6 separate regions of the Homo sapiens genome follow, and all the other regions are linked to region 3. Evidence: promoter capture Hi-C in 16 types of primary human blood cells and fetal thymus (Javierre and others, 2016). All regions are on one chromosome and are shown on one strand. Each heading gives the region's core, a stretch centred on a gene start or on the middle of the fragment in contact. The rest is flanking DNA. Distances are from core to core; before and after follow the strand shown. Region 1 overlaps GET1-SH3BGR (GET1-SH3BGR readthrough). Region 2 overlaps GET1-SH3BGR (GET1-SH3BGR readthrough). Region 3 holds the start of ETS2 (ETS proto-oncogene 2, transcription factor). Region 4 overlaps KCNJ15 (potassium inwardly rectifying channel subfamily J member 15). Region 5 holds the start of LOC105372801 (a long non-coding RNA gene). Region 6 overlaps GET1-SH3BGR (GET1-SH3BGR readthrough).

Region 1 (2,700 bases), core at 92-2,591, 620 kb after region 3:
TGTCCTCCTGTTGACTGAAGTGCTCTGATGGTCAACATGGACAAGAGCCCCAGCTGTTTCTATATAAGGAATACTTATGAGCTCAAGATTGCCTCAAATGGGAGGAAGGAATTACAGTCTGGGCAGGGAAGGAGGAAGAAAGGAGATCAAAGATAACACAAGCTAATTCCAATTTGGACAGCTGGGAGTTGATAGAGCTGGTACTTTAAAAATCTACAAAGAGCCGGGCGCGGTGGCTCACGCCTGTAATCCCAGCACTTTGGGAGGCCGAGGCAGGCGGATCACGAGGTCAGGAGATCGAGACCATCCTGGCTAACACGGTGAAACCCTGTCTCTACTAAAAATACAAAAAATTAGCCGGGCGTGGTGGTGGGTGCCTGTAGTCCCAGCTACTCAGGAGGCTGAGGCAGGAGAATGGCGTGAACCCGGGAGGCAGAGCTTGCAGTGAGCCGAGATGGCGCCACTGCACTCCAGCCTGGGTAACCAGAGCAAGACTCTGTCTCAAAAAAAAAAAAAAAAAATCTACAAAGAAATGACATTATTAACAGCCTTTTGAACCATCTCTGTTTCAAAAGATGGTGTTTGCCAATATGTCTCACCAGACTTGGAGACCATCCTCTTGGGGTGCTGAGATAGGTATTTACATTTCACTGGCAATTCAAACACTGATTCTTCAGCTGAGATGAAAGGCAAGAAGCCAGTGAAATCCAAATATTGTGGTACTCTGTAACAAGGCCACCTGTTAACTAAAAACAGAACTAACCTCACTAGTAGGCTCCAGTAGGGTAAGCCATGCAGGGGGCTAGGCTTTACATGTGAAGCCTTTCTGTTATTTTATAATTACTCTTAATTTCTCTATTTCCTAATTTATTCTATAAAAGTTCACCTATAATACACATTTACAATATGGGAAAACAATAAAACTGAGTATGAACCACTTCAAACACTAGTGCAGTAAAATAACATCATTATGACAGAAATTTGGTCTTGCTTGGGAAATTTTACTCCTTACCTTTAGATTGGGAGATTTTAGAAACATTATACTTTTTCTTCTCCTTTTCTTTTACCACAGGCTGCTTTAAATAATTTCTATTAATAGCCTTTTCTGAACAATCACAGAGAAAGTCTTCTGAATAATCATACTGAGAACTTAAACTTCCACAGGAGCACTGAGATCTGCTATAATCAACACTCTTATTGGAAGCATTACTGTTCCGTGAAAAATCGCCTGTGCCTGGGCTTCTCTTGCATGCTGCAGACCTCCTATTGTTTTCTAATGCCACGCCGAAGAAATGCTCATCTATATTTGTTTTTGTTAGATCAGCCAAAGACATAGCAAACAACCTAATAAAAGAAAAGTAAAACCTAATAAAAGTATTTTTGAATTTATTGACATTAAAATGAACCTATGCTTTATTTTATATATATATATATATATATTTTTTTTTTTTTTTTTTTTTTTTTTTTTTTAAAGACAGGGTGTCACTCTGTTGCCTAGGTTGGAGTGCAGTGGTGTGGCCATGGCTTTCTGCAGCCTTGACCTCCTGGGCTCAAGCGATCCTCTCAGCTCAGCCTCTGGAGTAGCTGGGACTACGAGTGTGTGCCGTCACACCTGGCTAACTTATTATTTTTTGGTAGAAATGGGAGTCTCACTATGTTGCCCAGGCTGGTCTTGAACTCCTGGGCTCAAGTGATCCTCCCACCTTGGTCTCACAAAGTGGTGGGATTACAGGCGTGAGCCACCATGCTCAGCCATGGACATAAACTTTGAATACTTTCAATAAGCCCTCTTAGTTGTCTAAAGTGATAATTTAAAATGGAAGGAATAGAAAGTGAAATACAAGAAAGACCCCAAATTTATACCCTTAATAAAATTAACATTAGTTACAAAGCAGATGGTTCTGCATTTCTTTATTATGCTACTGCACTAAGGACAATACCACCACAAGTATCTCTTTTATAGCAGCTTACCTCAAAAGCAGATTGAAACAAACAGATCCATCTTCTGAGGTCTTTAAAAGGATTTACCTTTTCATTTAATTCTCAATTCTCCTGTTTTATCAAGAAAGCAAAAGAGAATTTAACTGGCATTAGATCCTTTGCAATAGGAATCTAATATCACTTTCTCTACTGAGAGGGTTTTTTTTGAAGTCAGTTTCTGCTTTTTGCTGCATCTGCTTAATTCTCCAGCCTTCTCTTCTGATGAAATATATTAGGCAGTCCACAATCTCCTCACTACAAGAAATCAAATGATCTTAGTAATAATTAATATTAGCATTACACTTAATATCTAACTAGTGCTCTTACTTTGTACAAACTTATTTCACATCACCTCATCTCAGCCACCTAGAGGGAATAGGTTCAGACAGGTTTAAAGTTCAGAGACTGTCCCTGTTTCTTAGCTCCAGGGGCAGTGCTTTTTTCATTAAGCACCATGACTGCAACACCACATTGGTGGGAGCATTACACAATCCTAAGGCAAAGAATTTCTCTTTCCAGACACATTCTGCTGTGTAGCGGTGGGCAGAAGCAGATCCTTATTTGTGAACCTTTGCATCTAGATTAAGAAGAATCCAGGCTGGGCATTGTGGCTCACATCTGAAATACCAGCACTTTGGGAGGCTGAGGTGGGTGGATAGCTTGAGCTCAGAAGTTTAGGACCAGCCTGGGCAACATGGCGAAACCGTCTCTACAAAACAA
Region 2 (2,700 bases), core at 153-2,652, 610 kb after region 3:
TCTGTCACCCAGGTTGGAGTGCAGTGGCACGATCTTGGCTCACTGCAACCTCTGCCTCCTGGGTCCAAGCGATTTTCCTGCCTCAGCCTCCTGAGTAGCTGGGATTACAGGCACATACCGCCATGTGCGGTTAAGTTTTGTATTTTTTAGTAGAGATAGGGTTTCACCATGTTGGCCAGGCTGGTCTCAAACTCTTGACCTCAGGTGATCTGCCTGCCTTGGCCTCCCAAAGTGCTGGGATTACAGGTGCGAGCTGCCATGCCCAGCTGTTTTATGTGTGCTTTATATACACATATAGTAATTCACAATTTTAAAGAAATCAGATAAGATAGACTTTAAAGAGTTAAAATTACCTTCATATTTTCTCTTAGAATCCTCTTGCTTTGGTAGTTTATTCACACAGTGAGGAATTTCATGATTTATTTCAGTTGATTTTTCTTTATGATCGATGTTTCCTGTTGCCTTTTTACCCTGTAATTTAGAAAAGCAGCAAAAACACATTTTGGGGGGTCTAGATAACTTAAAATTGCATTTTATTCTAATGACTACAAATACTTTTCACATAGAACAAGTGACTGTAGCCTATTTTTGTTAAGACATGTTTAATCAGACACTGCAAGATTCCAAATTTGCTGTACCTTAGTTGTCAAAGGTGGAACATCTGATTTTTGGGTTCCCTGGTGTCTCATACTTGTGAATGGCAAAATTTTTCTGTCTGCTTGGACTGATTTTGTTGAAGAAACTATGGAACAGGTAGATTATATGTAAGAAACATATTTTACATTTGGATACAATATTGATTTTAAACATAAAATAACTTTTATGCAATGTAATAATAAAGTATACTAAGTATTTTCTAAATATTCAATATATATATAAGCATTTGTTAGTTTCCTGTTTTTCCCTCCAGGGCCCTTGCTTTGTCTTACTTTGGGCCTCACAGTGTTTGAGTATAAAACAAGTAGGTGTTAGGATAAGACATTGTTGCTGTTGGAGGACAAGGCTGTCCTTTGTGGATGGGATTCAGCAAGGTAGACGTGTAATTGTGAGAGGCCAGGCCACCGAGCTATCCTGTGGCGGAGCTCTTGATTATCAGTGGTTAGACTGTCCATGCTGAAGCGCATGACCACTAAATCTAGACTGCACTTTCCTGAAAAGTGAAGGAAATTATATCATTTAAACAACCCCTCGGTTGATTCATTGTCTCTATTATTCTAGATTATAAGCCAGAAGCAAACAAAGGCAGGCAAGGAAATTTGAGGTTGTTGCATCTGGAAGTAAACATGTAGCTACTTCTTCTAATAAAACAGAGGTGAGTATTCCTATGGTACTTCTGAGTCGAATCTGTTGCTGGGAGATTTTGGGGGGAAAGCAGTGCACGTGCTCTTGAAGAAAAGAAGACCTCACCAATGAGAGGTATACACTAATGATAGTGGCATCAATATAGATGAATCTCAAAAACACTATGCTGAACAAAAGCAGCCAGATACAAAAGGGTGCAGCTGTGGGATTCCACTTACATGAAATTCTAGAACAGACAACCTAGGCTATTGTGACCAAAGGAAAGTCAGTGGTTGCCTCGGGTGAGGTAGGGGACTACTGACTGCAGGGGACACGAGGAAACTTCCTGGGGAGGTGGAAATATTCAATATCTTGATTGGGGTGGTGGCTCCATCGGTATAAACATCTGTCAAAACCCACTGAGCTGCGTGCACACTTAAAATGGATGCATTTTATTGAGGTCAAGTATACCCCAATAAAGTTCATTTTGAAAAGCCATACACTGGCTAACAGATACACTTAGAAAGTTCACTTTTTGGCAGACATTTTGCTTCAAGCTGAAGTTATCCTTTTGCTCCACCTGAAGAAAGGACATAAAGGGGTGTGCTGAGGATGGGAGAACGGGAAAGCATTTCTATTCCTTGCTAGCCATGTCACCATCTCAGTCTCGTTATTCTTCTAGAATCACAAAATGTATTTTAATGCCTAATGAAGTGATTTTTGAAAATATCCATTATTTTGTCTATATAAATTAGGAAAATCTGACTAGATACTTAAAAATAGATTTTGAGCAAAAGTAATTAAAACATACCTTTTGGATAGTCCTCTGTGTCATGTAAATTTTTAAGTATTCGATGACTATAGATGTTTTTAATTTCAAGCTCACGATCCTTTTCCTAAAAAGAACCACAAAACCAATTTTTCTATAAATGCTTGCTTTTGTCAACCCTGATTTCTTTTAAAAACAATTTAAATGAGCTCAGTATCCTATGAATAAAATCTGTAGATTTTAGAAGAAACAGAAATAGGCCATATCATCCTATACCATTCCTGACATCGAAAAGTACTAGCTCTTTAAACAAAGTGACACATTATTGTGATCGGGACAGTATTTTTGAAGAGCCTTGCAGGTCAGCTTGTCCACTGTTTTCCTTCTGTCCTGTGGGCCTTGAAGTTTATGAAATATTCTTCTGTACTGTGCATTACAGTAGCCACTAACTATATGTTGTGATTTCATTTAAATGAAAGTAAAACTAAAATTTAGGTCGTCAGCCACACTATTTGTATTTCCAATAGGCGGTCAGCAGCTGTGTGTGACTAGTGACTACAGTATTGGATGGCACAGGTGAACATTTCCACCATCTAATAGAAAGTTCTATGAGACAGGGCTACGTCTAGACAAGGGCCGGGGGGGAAGCC
Region 3 (2,700 bases), core at 91-2,590:
GTTTCAGCCGTATAGATTCTGACTGTGACTCATGCCACGGTGATACCCGGAGACCTTCGGGGACCCAGAAACATTAAGGTGCACCGATATCTCAATTATCCGGATAACTCTAGACCTAGAGTCACCATGGAAACCTAGAACCCTGAGTCACAGAGAAGCTGGGCCATTCCTCTCCCTTCCCGGTGGTGCCGCAGTTCTTGAGATGTGAGCAGCTTTCAGCCCCGTGGCCTCGCCTAAGCTGGGGTTTCCTATTTCATCCACAACTTCAGGAATCTAAACTTTCCTGCAAAATATTGAGCATGTGACCTGAGTCCAAACAGCCATGGACTCAAGCACCTTCTGATAAAAACGGAAACCACAGTGTAGGGGGTGGTTTTGACCAGGGTTTCGGAGTCAGATAAACTCAGGTTTCCACCTTGAATTTCTCATCAATCTGACGTGGCAGGTTATTCATCCTAAGGTTCAGTTCCCACCTGTGTAAAGTGGGAGCCGCAAGTCCTCCGAGAGTGACGATGATGTGCGTGGAGTGCCCAGCCCAGATTGAAGCGCGGCCAAGGCGGGTCGCTATCTGGGCACCGCTCAGCTCCAGAGGGCGCCACTCCCGCGGAGCCTGCGGGATCGGGGCTTCCCGGGAGCAGCGCGATCAGCACCACGACTCGGGGACACAGCCAGGGCCCGGTTTCTACAGGAAGCGCCTCATTTGGAGCCTTTTTGTGATAGAATGATCATTAGTCCTAAGCCCATTCAGAGGTTCAAGAATGGGGTCGGCTCAATTTCAGGGCCTTATTACCCAAGCCCGGCTGCCCTTCGGTGCCACCAGCACCACTGCTCCGTCGCTGCGGAATTCCAAAGGCAGGTTTGGCGTTAGGGCCTTGGCCCCAGAGAGGACGCCGAGCGCTCCACGGAAAGTCTCCGCCCGGCTCCCAGGGCGCACACTCGCGCGCACGTGGGGCCGAGGCCCTGCTCCCGGGGCCTCAGGGCCAGCCGGCGAGGGACCCAGCCGAGTGACAGCAGGAGGCGGAGGGAAGGTTGGGCCGGAAGGTGTCAGCCCCGCCCCGCGCTCCCTCGCCGCCTCCGCCCTCCTCTTCTCTCCCCTCGTGCGTTCCCTCTCCTCTCCCTCCGCTCCCCCAACCCTCCTGCTGCCCCCTTCCCTCTCCTCCCGCTTCTCCCCATCCTGCCTACCTCCCTTCCCCTCCTCTTCTCTCTCCTCCCCTTCCCTCCCCTCTCTCTTCTCTCCTCCCTCGTTTCCTCCCCTCCCCTCCACTCGGCCGTCCCTCCTTCCTCCTCCCTCCTCCCTCCTCCTCCCGCTCCTGAAGAGCGCGCCGCGTGGGGGACGGCCCGGTTACTTCCTCCAGAGACTGACGAGTGCGGTGTCGCTCCAGCTCAGAGCTCCCGGAGCCGCCCGGCCAGCGTCCGGCCTCCCTGATCGTCTCTGGCCGGCGCCCTCGCCCTCGCCCGGCGCGCACCGAGCAGCCGCGGGCGCCGAGCAGCCACCGTCCCGACCAAGCGCCGGCCCTGCCCGCAGCGGCAGGGTAAGAGCTGGGCCCGCAGAGAGCGCCCGGCGCGCGGCTCCAGTCCCATGGAGGGTCACCCGGGGCCTGGGCGGGGGTCGCGGGGGGCACTGACACGCAGATCTCGGGGCGCTGCCGGGGGTGCAGGTGGGGGTGGCGGCTGCTGCGAGGACTCTAGGGGCGCGCGTCTGAGTTCCGCGCCGGCTCGTTTTCCGGTTATGGAGTGGCCTCCGGGGCTGGCGGGGTCGGCCGGGGGGTTCCTGCGTGCTAGGGCCGCTGTCTTCGGGGTCGCCTAGCGGCGGGCGCGGCCAGGGCGCGCTGGCTTGTTTCGCTCGCTTTTGTTTTTAAAAGGAAACGCAGGCCTGGTAGGGGGTCCTGCCCAGTGGATGTCCCGGCGAACATGATTTCGCGAACGGGAGTGGGGGCACAGGAGAGCGTGTCCGAGGTGGCCTGGCGCCCCGGCTTTGAGGGTGACTTCCTGGAGCGGCGCCGGGCCCGGAGGATCTGGGGCGCCCAAGACACCTGAAGGCTGCGGCACCGCGGGAACCTGCGGGGCGCGGGGTGCCATGGTCACCTGCTCGCCGCGTCCAGGGCCCGGGCTGGGGACCCCTCGGTCGTGCGAGGAGAGCGTGGGGAACCTGTCGGAAATGAGATCTGGTTGCGCTGGGCTGCCTTTATTTTCTCGTTCCTACAGCATTTGAATGAAGAGGTAACTGAGTGTTTGCTTGTGTGTGTTTGGGTTGCGTGTGTGTTATCCTATTTTATTTTTTACGGCAGGAGACCTTTTATGTTAGCCTGTACACAATTTCAGGGTAGCCTAAAACAGTAGTTGACGCGCTAGTTATTTAGAAAGTAAAGAAATGAGCAGTCCCCTTTGGAGACAGGAGTAATTTATTTTAATTCGCCAGTAAGAGATTATATTTGTTCCATACAATGGAAGCGCCTGTGCGTTATCTGCCTGCCCACACCACCACCAATCAGAGAGATAAATCTCCACGTTAAGCTTTATTAAAATTCTGAGTAGTAGCGCAGCACAGTAAATGTTAGCACCGACCATCCGCAGGGAAATGCTCAGATACTCATTTCTGGGATTAGTCATTCATCTCTCTAAACTGATCGCTTTCAAAGCGAAAAAAGCAAACTACCTTCAAATGTGTGTTACAAGGTTGTGTTGTTTCTTTTTTTTGTT
Region 4 (2,700 bases), core at 38-2,537, 520 kb before region 3:
ACATATGGTATTTGGTTTTCTGTTCCTGCATTAATTTGCTTAGGATAATGGTCTCCAGCTCCATCCATGTTGCTGCAAAGAACATGATTTAATTCTTTTTTATGGCTGCATAGTATTCTGCGGTATATTTGTACAAAATTTTCTTTATCCATTCTACATTTATGGGCACCTGGCTTGATGCCATGTATTTGCTCTAGTGAATAGTGCAGAGGTGAACATACAAATGCATGTGTCTTTTGGTAGAATGATATAGTTTCCTTTGGGAATACACCCAGTAATGGGATTGCTGGGTCAAATGACAGCTCTGTTTTAAGTTCTTTTAGAAATCTCCAGACTGCTTTCCACAGTGGCTGGACTAATTTACATTTCCATCAATAGTGTAGAAACTTTCCCTTTCTTTGCAGCCTTGGCCAGCAACTATTTTTTGACTTTTTAGTAATAGCCATTCTGACTGGTGTGAGATGATAACTCTTCGTGGTTTTGATATGCATTTCTCTAGTGATTAGTGATGCTGAGCATTTTTTCAAGTTTGTTGACTGTTTGTATATCTTCTTTTGAGAAGTGTCGGTTCATTTCCTTTGCCCATTTTTTTTAAATGGAGCAATATGTTTTTTGCTTGTTGATTTATTCAAGTTCACCATGGATTCATTTTAAAATATGTATAAGATATAAACACTTAAAAGGATAAAGTGGAAGCTACAATTGAATACTTCTATCATTTTGTCACTGTCCCTGCTTGGGTTACTGGTGTACCCCACATTGGAGACATCTGGTGTAAAGAAGCAAACAGAGCCGAAAGGAATCTTAGAACTCTTTGTCTATGATGGTCAGTGTACTGGGGAACATGAAATACACAGAGGAAGTAATTTGTTGGATGAAATTGAATATACTTATGTTTGCCCATAGTTTTTATCGGTTTTGTCATTTTGAGAGATGTACAACTAATTTTCTCTTCAAGATAGAACATTGTGGCATATTCTTTGTGCTACGAATCAGAATAGGAAGACGAAATCTTTATTTCTAATTGAATTGTTCAAATCAGTGAAATATTCTTCACCCGAACAATGTGCCTAGCTGTGGACTGGATTCCTCTCTGGGATTCCTCTCTGACCTAGAACGTTGGGCATCATAACCTTAGGCAAGTGACATTCTTACTAAATCGGACGCTGAGTCCCCTTGAATGGCATCTCTGCCCACCGTGTGCCTCCCTTAAACATTAAGTTCCTACCACATGCCAGGCCTTGTGTTTGCCACTCAGGATGAACTACTGTGCCCAGTCTATGGGGAAAGCTAAACTCCAAGACTGATCATTACAGCAGCACAGTAAGTATTATCATGAGGTGTGGACAATGAGAAGGCAGAAGAGAGGAACAAGGTGAACGCTACCTGCATGCTGGAGGAGATGACATTTGAGCGGGGCCTCGAGGGATGCGTAGGAGTTTACCAGGCATAGAGCAAAGAAGAAATATGGAATAAAGGGGTCAGCCTAAGCAAAGGTATAGGGCAGGATATCTGCTTTATCAGCAGTATCTCTGGGTGAAGTGCAAACTCTTCTAATTCAGTCAATGAAATGAAGCCTTAAGATGACTGAAAACTAGGTTCTTGGATTTGTGCAATAGATATTTGGAAATATCTCTGAGAGTAAATGATTTCATAATGTTTGGCCACAACACTGTGTGGAAAGTTTCTTTGTGTAATATAATACAGAAAGTACTTCTCATTTACAGTAAAATCTGGAATACTTGGAAATGGTCTGTGCTAGGGAAACTGAATTTTCAGATTAACTGCATAAAAATGGAAAATCTGGTTGAAAAACCTTCCTAATTTTGTTTTCCTTTAGAGAGATAACTGCTGTTAATATTTTAGAGGTGTTTTATTTTGATCTTACCTAGAGAGAGAAACAGAGAGATTACCCTGCATATTTAGCTGTATCAATTGCCTTTTAAAAAACATATTTAGCATTTTTTCATGATTTTTAAACACTGCATAATATTTCAGCCTATGAGTGTTTTATAAATTTAAAACCATTCCTATATTGTTGGTGACTCAGATTGCTTCTAATGTTTTAATATCATAATAAATATAGAGAACACTCTTGTACATTATCCTATCATACATTTCCTATTAAGTCTTAAAAGTAGACTTACTGACTCAAGCAGTCTAACATAAATAGTTTAAAACTTTGAGTATACATTGTCAAATTACTGCCTCCCTCAAAAAAGTTATGCTAGATTACTCTATCGGACACCATGCAGGAAGCTCTTCATTTCTGCAAACTCGTCAATGTAGAATGTTCACATGTCTTTTAAAATTTTCGGTAATTTGATAAGTGAAAAGTGAATTCCTGGTGCCTTTGTGTTTCTTGGACTGATGGTCCCTCCTCAGTCTCCTTTGCCTGTATCTCTGACTCTGCCTGGTCTTAAGGCTACTCAGGCTCAGTCTGGGTTGCTGCTTCCACACTACTGTCTAAGGGGGAAGCTCCTGCACTTTCATGGCTCAAATTCCACTCGTTGGCTTATGTGCTAAAGGCATCCCTCCTGTCCAGGTGTCTCTGTTGAAGGCCAGGCCCATCTGCACAGACCCTAGTGCTTACTTCTCTTTAGGTGTCTCCAGGCAGCCTCCAGTGCACACCTTCAAACCTGCACCCCAGAGGTGAGATCCTCCTTCTGCATCGGGATTCTGCACAAGCGTGAGCTCCAT
Region 5 (2,700 bases), core at 88-2,587, 550 kb before region 3:
ATCTCCTTTGGTAAACTGTCAGATCTGCAGCCTCAAAATCTAATTGTTGACATATCACCAAATGAAAAGTAACAAAAACAGGTAAACATCACCAAAATGAAGAACATTGTCTTAGCATTTAAACTTTAAAATGTATTTCTACTACTCTGGACTCATTTTTTCCTTCCATCATCTTTAAAATTGTTATAAATGAGTATCTGCTCCACTGTGTATGGTCCTGCAAGAACTAAAACTTCCCAGAGTATTAAACTGTGGTTAAAATTCATGCAGTATGTAACTCGATGCTGAGAAGAAGCTACATATGCATATGTATGCTCAAAATATAAGAATTTAAGAAAAATGTACGATAATGAAAAATGCATGGATTGAAAGTGAAAAGAGCTGTTTTGAGCTTCAATTCATCGCTCTGTAGCTGTGTGACTTTGCACAAATCACTTATCTTCTTTGGCTTCCATCTCCTTGCCCTTAAAATACAACTAATCATGCCTACATTTTGATCTGAGCATGGACTTAACAACATTTCTGGCAGTGTTTTACAAATTGAAAAAAAGGTGTTCAAATGTTAGTTTATTAAGTAAAGCTTAGGCTGGAAATACAGATTAAATATAAGGAGATAATTAAAGTTCCACGGTAACAAATCATGTCTTCCATATGTAATCTTTTGTCAACCCACTTGACAAATATGCATATTTTTTGAGGGACTATGATGTGCCAGATATTGCTGGAAAGATGTTTGGTGAATAAGACAGGTACCATTGAGCTCTAGACTGGAACACAGATGGTAAATGGAAAAGCTTGAGGGCAACTTCAGACAGTGATAAGTGAGATACACAACAAAAGGAGTCTTGGGGCACGGACTTGGATCAGGACCAGATCAGATAAGGACCTCCCAGAGGAGGTGCCATTCAGGCTAGGACCTGAACAATGAGTCAGCTCAGTGAATGAAGGCCAGAGGGGACCATTCCAGGCCGAGGAAACAGCCCCTGCAAATCATCCCACCTGAGCAGCTGGTATATACTCAGATCCTTTAATTCTCAGTTTTCCCTCTTTCATCGTTCTGCACCTCTGTGCTTACCTGTTTTCTATGGGACTTTTAGCATATCCTCGCGGGAGGTCTATCTGATTCTAGACTCCGGGAGTACCAGCTCTAAGAAGTCCAAATCTCGTGTAGCTTCTTCATCCTCCTGCCCTGAACCCCTGGGAGCCCAGTGTCTTCTTTCCAGGGCCACCATTTATACTCCCAGGCTGAAAAGGAGTCCCTTGCTTCCAGGGAAAGAAAGAGCAAAAGAGAAGGAGACTGAGGCATACCATCTCCACTGGGAAAACAGAAATGGAATGATTTATGCCCTGAGCTTTGAGTCAGCAGGGAGAGGGGGGAGAAAATAAGGAAGTCTCAGCCCTTCCTTCCTAAAGACAGAATGACACCCCATCCCTTCCAGCTCCCACTTAGTTCAAGCACCCAGAACAGCAGCAGCTGCACTTGGGGTGAATTGCAGAGCCCAGTACTCTGGGGAGAGGAAGTATCATTCATTTCCAACAGAAGCAAAGTGTTCCTCACCCTGTCTGCTCTATGTCAAACCAGATGCCGTGGTCTGGCCCCACCGACATGCCTGGGCAGGGGACGTGTGGGTATATCATCGTCTCCCATGGGAAACAGACCGTTTGCGTCTCTTGGCATTGCCTTTGGACCAGTGTAGAGGGCTCTCTCTAGGGGAAGTGCTTTTGAAAAACCCATTCCATCTCTTAGGATTGACCACGATCCCCATGCAGTCTGGCCGTGAGAAGGCCAGGAGAGCACATGAGCCTTGGACGGGCCTCCCTTGATGTGGTGGCTGCAAGAGTCACTTTGCATAGGATGGACATATAACCCCATTCCCGAAAGAAGCTTACTGCCTCTGCTTCCAGAGATCTTCCATTAGAAGCCTTCTTCAAGGATGGAATTCTGACCATTTCTCATAAAGATGCCAGACTATGCAAGAATGCTGGAACTCAGATTCCAACATGTATCCCGAAGCCCAATTTCCATGATCCAGAAGAACCAAATTTTGCCCATGTCTATTCAGCTTATATATATATATATATATAATATTTATCAGGGAAAGCAGGGCAATAGAAAAAAATCAGCTCAATAAAGGGGTTGAGCTAAAAACATGAGTTTTCCTCTGTGGCATTTTGCTTAGGTATGTTTGACATAGGTATAGTCTGTATGGATTCATTCTGATTCCACCAGGAGGCAAGAGATTTTGTTAATATTCATTTGGGGAGGAGAGAGGAAAGAGAAAAAGAAAACATGGGATAAAGGAGAGATTGTTAGAAAAGGTAATCTGGTTATTTATTTATAGTTTACTTAGCCAAAGGGACCTTAAAATGCTTTGATAAGAATGGCCAAAGTTTCTTCAAAGATTAACTGGCATTCTTTAAAAAGGCATCAGTTTTCTTTTGCACAGGTGTTTGGAGAGCCCGGACTGGATGCCCACTAGAATCCTGTGCTGGTTTGTAGATTTCCTTAAGACCTTAAGACATGCTGACATCATGGTCTCCTTTCTCAGATTCCTTCTCTCTTTTTCTCTTTCTCCCCCACTCTCTCTCTCTGTCTCTCACTTTCTCTCCTTTCCTCCCTCCCTCCCTCCCTCCCTCCTTCCCTATCCCTCCCTCCTCTGCCCAATGTCTCCCAATCTCTTTCCTTTCTCTCTTCAGTTC
Region 6 (2,700 bases), core at 77-2,576, 580 kb after region 3:
GCATTGCATAAAAGACTCCTGATGAGCTGGCCCATGCTCATCTTCTTGTTTTTAATTGTAAAATACACATAATATGAAGTTTATCATCTTTATCATTTTTAGGTGTACAGTTCAGTGGCATTAAGTACATTCACATTTTTGTGCAACCATTATCCCAGAACTTTATTATTATTATTTTAAGACAGGGTCTGGCTCTGTGCAGTGGTGTAATCTCGACTCATTGCAACCTCTGCCTCCCAGGTTCAAGTGATCCTCCCACCTCAGCCTCCCAAGTAGCTGGGACCACAGGCATGCACCACCACGCCCAGGTATTTTTTTGTATTTTTAGTAGAGACAGAGCTTTGCCATGTTGGCCAGGCTGGTCTCAAACTCCTGACCTCAAGCCATCCACCCATCCTGGCCTCCCAAAGTGCTGGGATTACAGGTGTGAACCACTGCACGTGGCCCCGCTCCCAGAACATTTTCTTTTTTTTTTTTTTTGAGACAGAGTCTCACTCTGTTGCCTATGTAGGAGTGCAGTGGCCTGATCTTGGCTCACTGCAGCCTCCACCTTCCAGGTTCAAGCGATTCTCCTGCCTCAGCCTCCCAGGTAGCTGTGATTACCAGTACCTGCCACCATGCCCGGCTAATTTTTGTATTTTTAATAGAGACGGGGTCTCACTATGTTGCCCAGGTTGGTCTCAAACTCCTGACCTCAAGTGATCTGTGCTCCTTGGCCTCCCAAAGTGCTAGGATTACAGGCGTGTGCCACCACGCCTGGCCCCATCCCAGAACTTTTTTTATCTCCTCTAACCGAAACTCTCGCACTCATTAAACAACAACTTTCCATTCCTACCTCTCCCTGGCAATCACCATTGTACTTTCTGCCTCTGTGAATTTGACTACTCTTGGGACCTCATATAAGTGGAATCAGACAGTATTTTTCCTTTTGTGACTGGCTTCTTTTCACTCAGCATAATATCCTTAAGGTTCATCCATGGTGTATCATGAGTCAGGATTTCCTCCCCTTTTAAGGCTGAATAGTATCCCATTGTATGTATAGGCCACATTTTGTTTATTAGTTCATCTGTCTATGGACACTTGGGTTGTTTCTACCTTTTGACTATTGTAGATAATGCTAAAATGTTTACAAATATCTCTTTGAGTCTCTGCTTTCAGTTTTTCTGGACATATACCCAGCAGTGGAATTCCTGAATCTATGGTAATTCTATGTTGAATTTTTTTGAAAAACCACCATACTGTTTTCCATAGCAGCCACACCATTCGACATTCTCACCAGCAGTGCAGAAGGGTTCCAGTTGCTCCATATCCTTCAACATGTATTTTGTTTTCTTATTTATTTATTCTTTTTATTTTTTTATTTATTTTTATTTTTTGAGATGGAGTCTTGCTCCGTTGCCCAGGCTGGAGTGCAGTAGCGCAGTCTCGGCTCACTGCAAGCTCCGCCTCCCGGGTTCACACCATTCTCCTGCCTCAGCCTCCCGAGTAGCTGGGACTACAGGTGCCCACCACCACCACAACCGGCTAATTTTTTTGTATTTTTAGTAGAGACGAGGTTTCACCGAATTAGCCAGGATGGTCTCGATCTCCTGACCTTGTGATCTGCCCGCCTTGGCCTCCCAAAGTGCTGGGATTACAGGCTTGTGCCACCGCGCCCAGCCTATTTTTTTTTTTATTATTTATTTTATTTTGTTTATTTATTTTTTGAGACAGAGTCTTGCTCTTGTTGCCCAGGCTGGAGTGCAATGGCGCAATCTCAGCTCACTGCAACCTCTGCCCCCCGAGTTCAAGAGATTCTCCTGCCTCAGCTTCCCAAGTAGCTGGGATTACAGGTGCCCGCCACTATGCCCGGCTAATTTTTGTATTTTTAGTAGAGACGAGGTTTCACCATGTTGGCCAGGCTGGTCTCGAACTCCTGATCTCCGGTGATCTGCCCACCTTGGCCTCCCAAAGTGCTGGGATTACAGGTGTGAGCCACTGCACCCAGCTAATTTTTATTTTTTTGAGAGGGAGTCTCTCTCTGTCACCCAGGCTGGAGTGCAGTGGCTCAATCTTGGCTCACTGCAACCTCCGCCTCCCAGGTTCAAGCAATTCTTCTGTCTCAGCCTTCCAGGTAGCTGGGATTACAGGTTTGAGCCACTGCGCCCAGCTAATTTTTATTTTTTTGAGAGGGAGTCTCTCTCTGTCACCCAGGCTGGAGTGCAGTGGCTCAATCTTGGCTCACTGCAACCTCCGCCTCCCAGGTTCAAGCAATTCTTCTGTCTCAGCCTTCCAGGTAGCTGGGATTACAGGTGCATGCCACCATGCTGGGCTAATTTTTGTATTTTTAGTAGAGACGGGGTTTTGCCATGTTGGCGAGGCTGGTCTCGAACTCCTGACCTCAGGTGATCCACCTGCCTGGGCCTCCCAAAGTACTGGGATTACAGGCGTGAGCCACCACCCCCGGCCTTTTTTTTTTTTTGTAATACTAACCATTCTAATGGACGTAAGGTGGTGTCTCATTTTAGTTTTGATTTGCATTTCCCTAATAGTGATGTTGAGTATCTTTTCAGATGCTTATGGCCATCTGTTTATCTTTGGAGACATGTCTAGTCAAATCTTTTGCCCCCTTTTAAAATCCAGTTGTTTTTTGTTGTTGAGTTCCTTTTGTTGTTGTTATTATTATTATTATTATTATTTTTTGAGACAGAGTTTTGCTCT

What was found. The method cuts DNA at HindIII sites, captures the fragments that hold promoters and counts their contacts. A CHiCAGO score of 5 or more calls a contact.
Region 1: a contact is called between a fragment that was not itself captured here and the fragment with the promoter of ETS2 in region 3, in 1 of 17 cell types (non-activated CD4 T cells). The highest score is 5.6, in non-activated CD4 T cells.
Region 2: a contact is called between a fragment that was not itself captured here and the fragment with the promoter of ETS2 in region 3, in 1 of 17 cell types (non-activated CD4 T cells). The highest score is 5.4, in non-activated CD4 T cells.
Region 4: a fragment that was not itself captured here is called in contact with the fragment with the promoter of ETS2 in region 3 in 1 of 17 cell types (monocytes); the score reaches 5.7 in monocytes.
Region 5: a fragment that was not itself captured here is called in contact with the fragment with the promoter of ETS2 in region 3 in 1 of 17 cell types (monocytes); the score reaches 7.3 in monocytes.
Region 6: a contact is called between a fragment that was not itself captured here and the fragment with the promoter of ETS2 in region 3, in 4 of 17 cell types (activated CD4 T cells, total CD8 T cells, non-activated CD4 T cells and 1 more). The highest score is 7.8, in activated CD4 T cells.

The regions. Positions count from the first base shown.
Region 1 is chr21:39,427,160-39,429,859 of GRCh38, forward strand. The region is part of intron 8 of GET1-SH3BGR (GET1-SH3BGR readthrough); the gene reads left to right. LCA5L (lebercilin LCA5 like) reads right to left here. Exons shown (of 11, transcript NM_152505.4): 4 at 1,972-2,052; 5 at 1,013-1,344. The coding sequence starts at 1,334. It also overlaps a transcript of GET1 not described here. Among named protein-coding and RNA genes, the nearest start is that of LCA5L, 17 kb to the right of the region's middle. The HindIII fragment of the contact is 4,177 bases long and covers 1-2,700 here.
Region 2 is chr21:39,409,626-39,412,325 of GRCh38, forward strand. It overlaps GET1-SH3BGR (GET1-SH3BGR readthrough), which reads left to right. Exons shown (of 14, transcript NR_146618.2): 7 at 1,219-1,312. It overlaps LCA5L (lebercilin LCA5 like), which reads right to left. Exons shown (of 11, transcript NM_152505.4): 8 at 2,093-2,177; 9 at 639-742; 10 at 354-471. It also overlaps a transcript of GET1 not described here. Among named protein-coding and RNA genes, the nearest start is that of GET1-SH3BGR, 31 kb to the left of the region's middle. The HindIII fragment of the contact is 4,695 bases long and covers 1-2,700 here.
Region 3 is chr21:38,804,589-38,807,288 of GRCh38, forward strand. ETS2 (ETS proto-oncogene 2, transcription factor) reads left to right here and starts at 1,341. Exons shown (of 10, transcript NM_005239.6): 1 at 1,341-1,532. RefSeq lists enhancers at 140-640, 174-313, 494-553, 564-723 and silencers at 834-1,163, 1,184-1,253, 1,444-1,733, 1,844-1,943, 1,964-2,063. The HindIII fragment of the contact is 4,522 bases long and covers 1-2,512 here.
Region 4 is chr21:38,281,513-38,284,212 of GRCh38, forward strand. All of the region lies in intron 1 of KCNJ15 (potassium inwardly rectifying channel subfamily J member 15), which reads left to right. Among named protein-coding and RNA genes, the nearest start is that of KCNJ15, 26 kb to the left of the region's middle. The HindIII fragment of the contact is 6,132 bases long and covers 1-2,700 here.
Region 5 is chr21:38,254,296-38,256,995 of GRCh38, forward strand. LOC105372801 (a long non-coding RNA gene) reads right to left here and starts at 1,359. Exons shown (of 3, transcript XR_937708.3): 1 at 1,076-1,359; 2 at 1-39. KCNJ15 (potassium inwardly rectifying channel subfamily J member 15) reads left to right here and starts at 2,696. Exons shown (of 3, transcript NM_170736.3): 1 at 2,696-2,700. The HindIII fragment of the contact is 1,091 bases long and covers 793-1,883 here.
Region 6 is chr21:39,381,593-39,384,292 of GRCh38, forward strand. All of the region lies in intron 1 of GET1-SH3BGR (GET1-SH3BGR readthrough), which reads left to right. The region is part of intron 1 of GET1 (guided entry of tail-anchored proteins factor 1); the gene reads left to right. Among named protein-coding and RNA genes, the nearest start is that of GET1-SH3BGR, 2.6 kb to the left of the region's middle. The HindIII fragment of the contact is 4,610 bases long and covers 1-2,700 here.